Linked DNA regions of Homo sapiens: region 2 is linked to region 1. Evidence: promoter capture Hi-C in 16 types of primary human blood cells and fetal thymus (Javierre and others, 2016). All regions are on one chromosome and are shown on one strand. The core of a region is centred on a gene start or on the middle of the fragment in contact, and the rest is flanking DNA. Distances in the headings are between cores, read along the strand shown.

Region 1 (4,383 bases), core at 726-3,225:
CTGTAATATAACTCTGAACTAAACAGCTGCACCCAAAGCAGAAACAATCTGGGTCATTCTGAACGAGATCAAACTGAGGCCATTTCTTTTTCTATTATAATCTGTGAGGTGTTGAGTTTTTAAGTTTTAAAAATGGCCTTTAATCAAAGCCAGCTGCACCTGATATAGACTTGTTAACTTATGGATTTCAAATTAGAGGACACTGTAACTACGGGCTCTCATAAGACACATGGAGCAGGCAGCAAGGGGCTAACCATCAGCCGGGTAAGGTCAACGTTGGGGTGTTTTATTTTGGAGACTTTAAATATTTAACATGTAGCTCATGTAACTTCAGCATCCACTAGTGACTCTGCTGGTCAGCACCCAAGGGCTGGATGAGTCTGAGGAATCTCCTTTAACCCCAAAGTATGAATGCTAAAGAGTCTCAAGGAAATTTTGATTCCCAGCAAGAGTTCACAAACCATCAGACCAATATCAATAAGGTAAACTGTGACTCTAATGCTCCACAAAAGTAAAAAGAAATTTCCAAATTAAATGTCATCTTCTGCCCAACCCTAGACTCCAGACTTTGTAACAACATTTTTATCTAGTATAATAGACTCTGTAGTAGACTGATTTTGACCGCCACAAAGAGTAGGAGTTGTCAAACTTGAGGAGATAGACTCCTCTCCCTGGATATTGATGGCTGCCAGCATACACCTCCTCATGACAGTCCCGTCGGTACACAGGCACAATCTCATCCAGCAAAGGCTTGTTGGCATTCTTTTTGGCTTTCTCTTCACAACCGATGTTTTCTGTAAGAACAGAGACAAGTCAATGAACAGATTCAGGAAAACCACACTTGCATCAGGCAATTAAAATCTATCCTTTCTTTTTTTTCTGGAGACAGAGTCTTGCTCTGTCACCCAGGATGGAGTGCAGCGGCGTGATCTCAGCTCATTGCAACCTCCACCTCCTGGGTGCAAGCGATTCTCCTGCCTCAGCTTCCCAAGTAGCTGGGATTACAGGCGTGCACCACTACATCCAGGTAATTTTTGTATTTTTAGTAGACATGGACTTTCACCATGTTGGCCAGGATTGTCTCAATCTCCTGACCTTGTGACCCACCTGCCTCGGCCTCCCAAAGTGCTGGGATTACAGGCGTGAGCCACCGTGCCCAGCCTATCCTTTCTTTGAGAAACTGCTCTTGTTGGGAATTCTGTTGAACCATTTAACAAGTTATGTGCATGTGAGCATTTATTAGTTCGTTCATTCATTCATTCATTCACTCATTCATTCAAATACCTAAGTATGTGCTATACACCAAACCCTGTTCTGAGCCCTGGGAGCCCAGTGATGAACATCTAGTGGTAGCAGTGGTCAGCATCCTATCTCTTTCTGTGCTTACTACCATTCCTATTTCAAGGTCCCATTTTCCCCTTTCCATAGCCATTCAATTCCTAATTCATCCTCAGGAATTTCACTCATCTGAGTAACATGAAAATGTTGCTCTCATCATCCTCCTTCTGACCAATATGAGTCCTCCCCATTTTAGAAAGATGGAAGATGATTTGTGAGGACTATTGCTTTCTGTATATCTTAAATATAAGCAGTAAAATGAAAAAATCATAGTAGAGAGATAGGCATTCAGAGATACTCTGAAAATTCAATTATTTTCACTAGGCCAATTTAACCCAGAGATGATCTAAGTGGCAAAAAATGGGCTCTGAAAGGTTTGCCCCGGTTAAGAGTTTTTTGAACTGTAATGCTATGAGGTTAGGAAAAAAAATGCCTCTAGAAACCTACAGGAATGAGAAAATTATGAACCAGCTTCGAAGTCACAGTTTAACATATTTAATACAAACCAGCTCAAAGAGGTCAAGGGAGTATTCAGCACAGAAGACAAGACTTTCGGGTTTATGGTTGTTGTTTTTGTTTGTTTGTTTGTTTAAGAGACTGGGACTACAGGCATGGATTTTCAGGTTTATAACATGGCAGAGTGAATTCTGGCAACACACTGAGTGATGCTTGTCAATGGCCACTATCAGGAATTTAAAACAAGGTAAGTTTGAGAAATTCTCACCGTCTATAGCAGATTAAGGAGATATGATGACTGACTATAATGTGGCATCCTGGAAAGGATCTTGGAACATTAGGTAAAAACTAAAAACATCTGAATAAATATGGACTTTAGTTAATTAATGAATCAATGTATCAATATTGTTTCATTAGCTGTGATGAGTGCACCACAGTACAATGTAAGATGCTAACAACAGAGGGAACTTGGTGCAGGGTATATGGGTACTCTTTGTGCTATCTTTGTAACTTTTCTGTAAATCTAAAACTATTCTAAAATTAAAAGTTTATTTTAAAAAAGCAGATGGCACTCTTATAAAGGTAGGTCAAAACCAGATTTACTTAACCACAGAAATACCTATAATTAAGCATGTTTCACATGCAAATGAGAAATACAGAACCATCCAAAATGTACACTATTGTTGACATCCAAGAAATAGACTGGTCCATTGATTCAAGACTCAAATTTTGTTTTAAATCTATAAAACTAAAGATTACTGGGATAGATGAAAAGGCATCTTTTATGAATTTAAGCCAAGGTTTAGGACCTGTAAACAATGAAGAAAATGGAGAATTAAAACAGGAGGATGTGTTACCATCCATGCTTCTTCAGAGAAAGCAAACTCCTCTGTCTACCTTTCAAGACCTAAGGAAGAAAAACCAAACCAAAACCCAAAAAACTCAGACTCTTCTACCATATGAAATACAAGACACGGTAGGACAGTAGCTTCTAAGGCATATGGACAAATACAATTTGTGAGCTAAATCTTTAAATGGGATGAAGTGACGCTCATGTAATGAACAATTCTTAGGAATGATAAAGCTTCACTGCTGTGAGGCTAAAATGTTTTAGCTGCAAATCATTTTATGATTAGGAATGGTACAAGTACAGGGAATGCCATCTTTCATTTGAGGGACATATTAGAACTAAGATCAAGGATATTAAGGTTCTTACCTCTAGAAATGAACCCCTGCCATTTTCACTAGTGATCTTCCCAACACCAATATAACCCCAAAACTATCATCAGCTGAGGGTTCAGACTAGGCAGTAACCACCTTTTAGAAGCTCTCTAATAGGCAAGCCAGGAGAAATACATTACCTCAACCAACTTCTGAACAGAGAATTCTTATTCACAAAGCTCTTTCATTTTTTTTTTTTTTTGAGACGGAGTCTGGCTCTGTCGCCCAGGCTGGAGTGCAATGGCACGATCTCAGCTCACTGCAATCTCCACCTCCCGGGTTCAAGCGATTCTCCTGCCTCAGTCTCCCAAGTAGCTGGGATTACAGGCATGTGCCACCATGCCTGGCTAATTTTTGTACTTTTAGTAGAGATGGGGTTTCACCATGTTGGCCAGGCTGGTCTTGAACTCCTGACCTCAGGTGATTCACCCACCTCAGGCTCCCAAAGTGCTGGGATTACAGGTGTCAGCCACTGCGCCCAGCCATCTTTTTTTTTTTTTTTTTTTTTTTTTTTTTGAGATGGGGTCTGGCTCTGTGGCCCAGGCTGGAGTGAAGTGACTTGATCTCAGCTCACTGCAACCTCTACCTCCTGGGCTCAAGCAATTTTCCCACCTCAGCCTCCCAAGTAGCTGGGACTACAGGTGCACACCATCACACCCAGCTAGTTTTTTGTATTTTTGGTAGAGACAGGGTTTCATCATGTTGCCCAGGCTGGTCTTGAACTCCTGAGCTCTAGCAATCCATCCGCTTTGGCCTCCCAAAGTGCTGAGATTACAGGCAGGGGCCACCGTGCCTGGCCTCACAAAGCTCTTTGTAAGTACAGTAATTTGTATGCATACAAAAAACTTTCCTTCCCAGACATCTGCAGACAGTCTGACTTTAATGAGTCCCTGTGATGCAACAGAAAGGACAGAACAGGTTCTGATGTTGTTGAAGGTCACATGAGAAAACAGTAGTGCCCCCTGGCTAATCTGCTACAGTCCTGCTCTCTAACTGCTTTTTATTTTTTTTAATTTTTTTTTTTTTTTTTTAGAGGGAGGGCCTAGCTCTGTCGCTCGGGCTGGAATGCAGTGGTGTGATCATATAGCTCACTACAGCCTCGAATTCCTGGACTCAAGCAATCCTCTTGCCTCAGCCTCCCATGTACCTGGGACTACAGGTACATGCCACCACACCCACCTAACTAAAAAAAAATTTTTTTTGTCGAGATGTGGTGTCACTCTACAAAACGGGTTGCCCAGACTGGTCTTAAACTTCTGGCCTCAAGAGATCTTCCTTACTTGGCCTCCCCAAAAGCTGAGATTACAGTCATGAGATACCATGCCCAGACAGGCTTTTTCTTTTTTTTATTTTTGAGACGGAGTCTCG
Region 2 (4,383 bases), core at 1,121-3,620, 660 kb before region 1:
AAATGAGTGGTTCTTTCTAGCTTGTTCACAGAGAGACGCCTTGAACTTCACCCACATAACCCCTCCATACTAGTGTCTGCAGCTGTCAGTGTGGTGACAGAGGCTATCTCGCACTCTATGATACTGTCACTGTCAGCTGGGCCACCTGGGTGGGGAGCCTCAGCCAGATACCCCCAGCATATTGAAACCATAGAAGCTGGAGCTGGAATGACCTTTGAAGACCTAAACACCTCACTTTACAGCTGAGAGGAGAGAAGGCTAAAATACAACTCCCGGACTCAGTGCCCAGGTGCCACGGTGTCCTTGCCCACACTGCCCAGGGCTAGGGTAGCAATCTCATGACAATAAGCTCCAAAAGTTACTGGGAACTGAGGGGCTTCACAAATCTTTTCAGCATATAGTCTCTTAGGGTCTGGCCTCTTTGCCATAACACAATGGGATTCAGCCTAGAATGAAAACATCCAAGAATACAGAAGGCTGGGTCAGCTCATGACTGCAGTGGCAAAATGCATTCCCCTACAGCCCCTTTCCGCTGTACACCAAGGGCTTCTCAGTTGAAAAGGAGAGGAGAGGTAACAGACATTCAGTCTATTTAGAAATGAGGCTGGCAAAAAAGGAGGTGACAAGTTACTCTGGTTCAGTTGATGAACCTTCTTTTCACCTGAGCCTTCTTTTCACCTCCCTGACATCAGAGAATGAAAACAAAGACATCATACAGAAAAGTGTGGCCATTAAAAGGATCACACCCTTTACACTAATGTGCCAGCAAGCTCCTCACAAACCACAGACTCCCAGATATTCTTAGCTGAAAGGCACCTGCCTCTAGGGACCTCCAGTGAGGGGCAGGATGGTCACAAAGTGAGAACACCAAGTCCTTTTTTTTTTTTTTTTTTTTTTTTGTAGAGACGGGATTTCGTCATGTCACCCAGGCTGGTCTTGAACTCCTGGACTCAAGCAATCCGCCCACCCCTCCCAAAATGCTGGGATTACAGACATGAGCCACCATGCCCGGCCTGAGAACACTAAGTCTTATGTCTGTCTTCAGCTCTTCAAAGCCCCAAAGCACTTGCACCATTGTGTAGTTTTGCAGTGGTCCCAGTACTGGTTCCTGCAGTAAGTACGCTTAATACTAAAATGCACAGGGCATTTGGTCCTGGAGGAAAATAGCACGTACATGCAGCTCGTTCATTTACCAACAGGCTGTTCACTGGCTTTGGACGCCTCCAATGAAGAGGTCACCAAGCTTTCCGTCATAGAGGAGCAGCAGCATTCAGGGAAAGGATGGCGGATCGCAAAACACTCCCCTTGGTGACAGGCTGAAATGCAGAAGGACCAGTATAGAACGCTCCTCAAGCTTTTAGAACTGAGCGTATTTTAAGGTCAGAATCACAACCAAGACAAAAGAATGCAACTCTTTTCATGTCGTATACCTTTGGTAAATTAAGAGCAACTGGTAAAATAAATACAAATCTCATTTGAATTAAGTATTTCATGTTTTTATTTCAAAAGAAAAAAGGATACCAAGAAGCAGAAGAATGAAGCAGTTAAAACCAGCAAAGCTGCAAAGTAGGAAAGAAAGCTGAGGGAGAGATTGATCCGATTTCAACGATGTGGCCACTTAATGCAAACACAGGGGTCTGATGCTGCAAACCTAAGTCACATGAGTCCAGTGACTTCAGCAGGTCCACTGATCCACCACAGTGACAGGGCCAGGCCCCTTCCTGCTGAATCCTAACTTTACACATTCTAGACACATGTCATGCACATACAGGTTACACTTTATGGTTACATGAAATTGCATGCAATTCACACAGAGAATCATTTTGAAGGCACTGTATTTTGCAGCAGGAGCTGCTACTTTCTGGCAAGTCCTTCCTAGGTTGGCTCACAAGTGGTCCTCCTTTTTATTTATTCCTATATGAAACTTTGGTCCAAAAATCAGGTGCAGTCTGATCCTACCCTCCCAGCTGTTTTAGTTTCATGTCTCACCTTCTCTTCCACGTTCCCTTCTTAAACGTAGATGTCAAGCTTAGAAGATGTTTCCTGACAATGAGATCCTGTTTAATTCAGATTTTCAAACAACTTGAGTCAAGCAAGCAGGAGCTTATAGTATGTTGATTTAAAACAAGTTGTTACCAGTTTCCCTTACCCTTGAATTCGGCAAGGCCCATTAATTCACAAATTCCATGATAAGATACATGAGGTTCTGTATGCATAGTAAATGATTTCTAGTTACAATTAAAATACAGCCTTGTATATGTTTAAGTCAACCTTAACTTTTAAAACATGACTTCAGTATACGCAACCTTAGGCTCACTTCCAGATTATAAAGTCCCATTCATGGGGTGCAAATGTTTACATTGTTAGCAAAGAAAATAGCTCTGCATAATCTTTTGACATACATGCACACTTCTAGTTCTAAAATTCAGAGCAAAGCAAGATGACAAGAGATTCCAATTCCAGCATATATTATGAAAGGTTATGGACTGTGACTATCCATCCTTTTGGACCATAAGAAATTCACTTTTAAATTTTTTCTACTGTGCTGTTCTACTATATACTTTTGGTCTATCAACTTGGTAGGCCTGAAAAAAAAAAGTATTTAACCTTCTAAATCTCATAATAGAAATTATGTACGTTGTTCTTTAACCAGAAAGGTTCACTGCTGACTCCCCCACCTCTCAAAAAACAAACAAACAAACAAACACCACCAAAGCTTTCCGCCATTCATGCACATGCTTATTCTGACCCCAACCCCATCCCTACAAAGGGGCAGCAGACAGCACAATAGTCAAGGACAAGGTTTTTATTTATTTATTTATTTATTATTTATTTATTTATTTTTTAAGGAGACAGGCCTCGCTATGTTGCCCAGGCTGGCCTCCAACTTTGGGCTCAAGTGATCCTTCTGCCTCAGCCCCCCGAGTCGCTGTGCCTAGGAGCACGCACCACCACACCTGGCTTAAGTAGAAGGTTCTGAAATCTGCCAGAGGCTGAGCAACAGAAAGCTTCCAATGAGAACTCAGAAGGCATTCACTCTGCCTGAAGTTGTGCTCTGCTCACAGCACGAGTGTGGCTGTCCCTCTCTCGCTCCCACCAGCTACATAATAGGGACTTTCAGGATGCTCCTATAAATACAGACTCCAGAGAGGTTTCCTCAAAAATTAAAAAAAAAATTCTATGCAAATATGTAAGTACTGTCATTGAGGATTACAGAAATACTTTGCATCAACTACAGATGTCTCAAAATAGAATTCTTTCTAGCTCATTCAGTTTTGTTAGAAACACTTCATGTTCTCCAAAAAAGAAAAGCACCTAACGAAAAGCATGTCCTATTCATGCTAGCAAGAAATGAATCCCAAAGGACACGCACCAAGAACCAAAGTAAAAGAATGTCAGCAAAACAGGACCCATCTTTTATCATCCCAAACTGCTATTTCCATCTCTGACTTTCTGCCAAATTATCTTTATCTTCCTAAGACGAAGCAAAGACTCAGAGCCCTCAAATGGCACGGAAGCGGCACCTGGTCTGCCAAGACATTGCTGTTAAACAGAGTCTTTTGGATTAAAACCAGGGAACTCGGAAGGAATGACTACATGGATATAGATGGATAAGATGGAAGATATAAAATAAGAAGGGCAGGAGGGTAAGATTATTCCTTTTTTCCTTTCAAGGCTGACAGTGATAGAATAAACAGCAGCACAGCAGGTTCAGATGATATGAAAACCACTGAATTCTGCCCAGGAATTGAAAGAAGGGCTTCTTCACTTCATCGAGCTCTGGAAAGTCTGTTTACTTAGAAACAGCTCTTGAACTACAAGAGTCAAATGGACCTTCTGCTATTCATATAATTGGAGCATGGATCTCGTGTGGTCCCATTACATGATTGGAATCAGTCTTTCTGAACGGCAGAATGTGCTTCCAGGTTGAAGCACAATGGAGAATGTACTGAAGCCACCACAGAGATGCTGGTAATTCAAACTGTGAAAGCACGTGGCGCAGAGGAAACTGACACAGAACAGCACACCACTGGTGCTTTATGCAACACCACTGACCCCAAGATGGTCACTCCATTGATTTTTCCGCATTGTTTACATCCAGGATGCATGCTGTCCAGTGCAATAGCGTCTATGACTATAAAACAACTAAAAGCTGCACTTAAGATGGGAGAGCCAAACTCAGATCTTTTTTCTCCTTCTCTTCAAAGATCAAAAGAAGAATAAACCAAAAAAGATTAAAAAAAAAGAATAAACCAACCAGTAGCTGCCGAGAATACAGTGAAAGAGGAAATTCAGAACTCAACTTTATCGGGGATGGGCACGGTCGCTTATGCCTGTAATCCCAACACTTTGGGAGGCCAAGGTGGGTGGATCACCTGAGGT

The links. Contacts are between HindIII fragments. The CHiCAGO score rates a contact against its expected background, and 5 or more counts as called.
Region 2: a contact is called between a fragment that was not itself captured here and the fragment with the promoter of ACBD3-AS1 in region 1, in 1 of 17 cell types (neutrophils). The highest score is 5.1, in neutrophils.

What each region holds. Positions count from the first base shown.
Region 1 is chr1:226,146,028-226,150,410 of GRCh38, forward strand. ACBD3-AS1 (ACBD3 antisense RNA 1) reads left to right here and starts at 1,976. Exons shown (of 2, transcript NR_146443.1): 1 at 1,976-2,041. It overlaps ACBD3 (acyl-CoA binding domain containing 3), which reads right to left. Exons shown (of 8, transcript NM_022735.4): 8 at 1-794. The coding sequence ends at 583. It also overlaps the pseudogene LOC124904586. The HindIII fragment of the contact is 12,330 bases long and covers 1-2,876 here.
Region 2 is chr1:225,485,355-225,489,737 of GRCh38, forward strand. It overlaps ENAH (ENAH actin regulator), which reads right to left. Exons shown (of 14, transcript NM_018212.6): 14 at 1,475-4,383. It overlaps LOC124904526 (a long non-coding RNA gene), which reads left to right. Exons shown (of 2, transcript XR_007066903.1): 2 at 1,200-1,480. Among named protein-coding and RNA genes, the nearest start is that of LINC02765, 20 kb to the left of the region's middle. The HindIII fragment of the contact is 688 bases long and covers 2,027-2,714 here.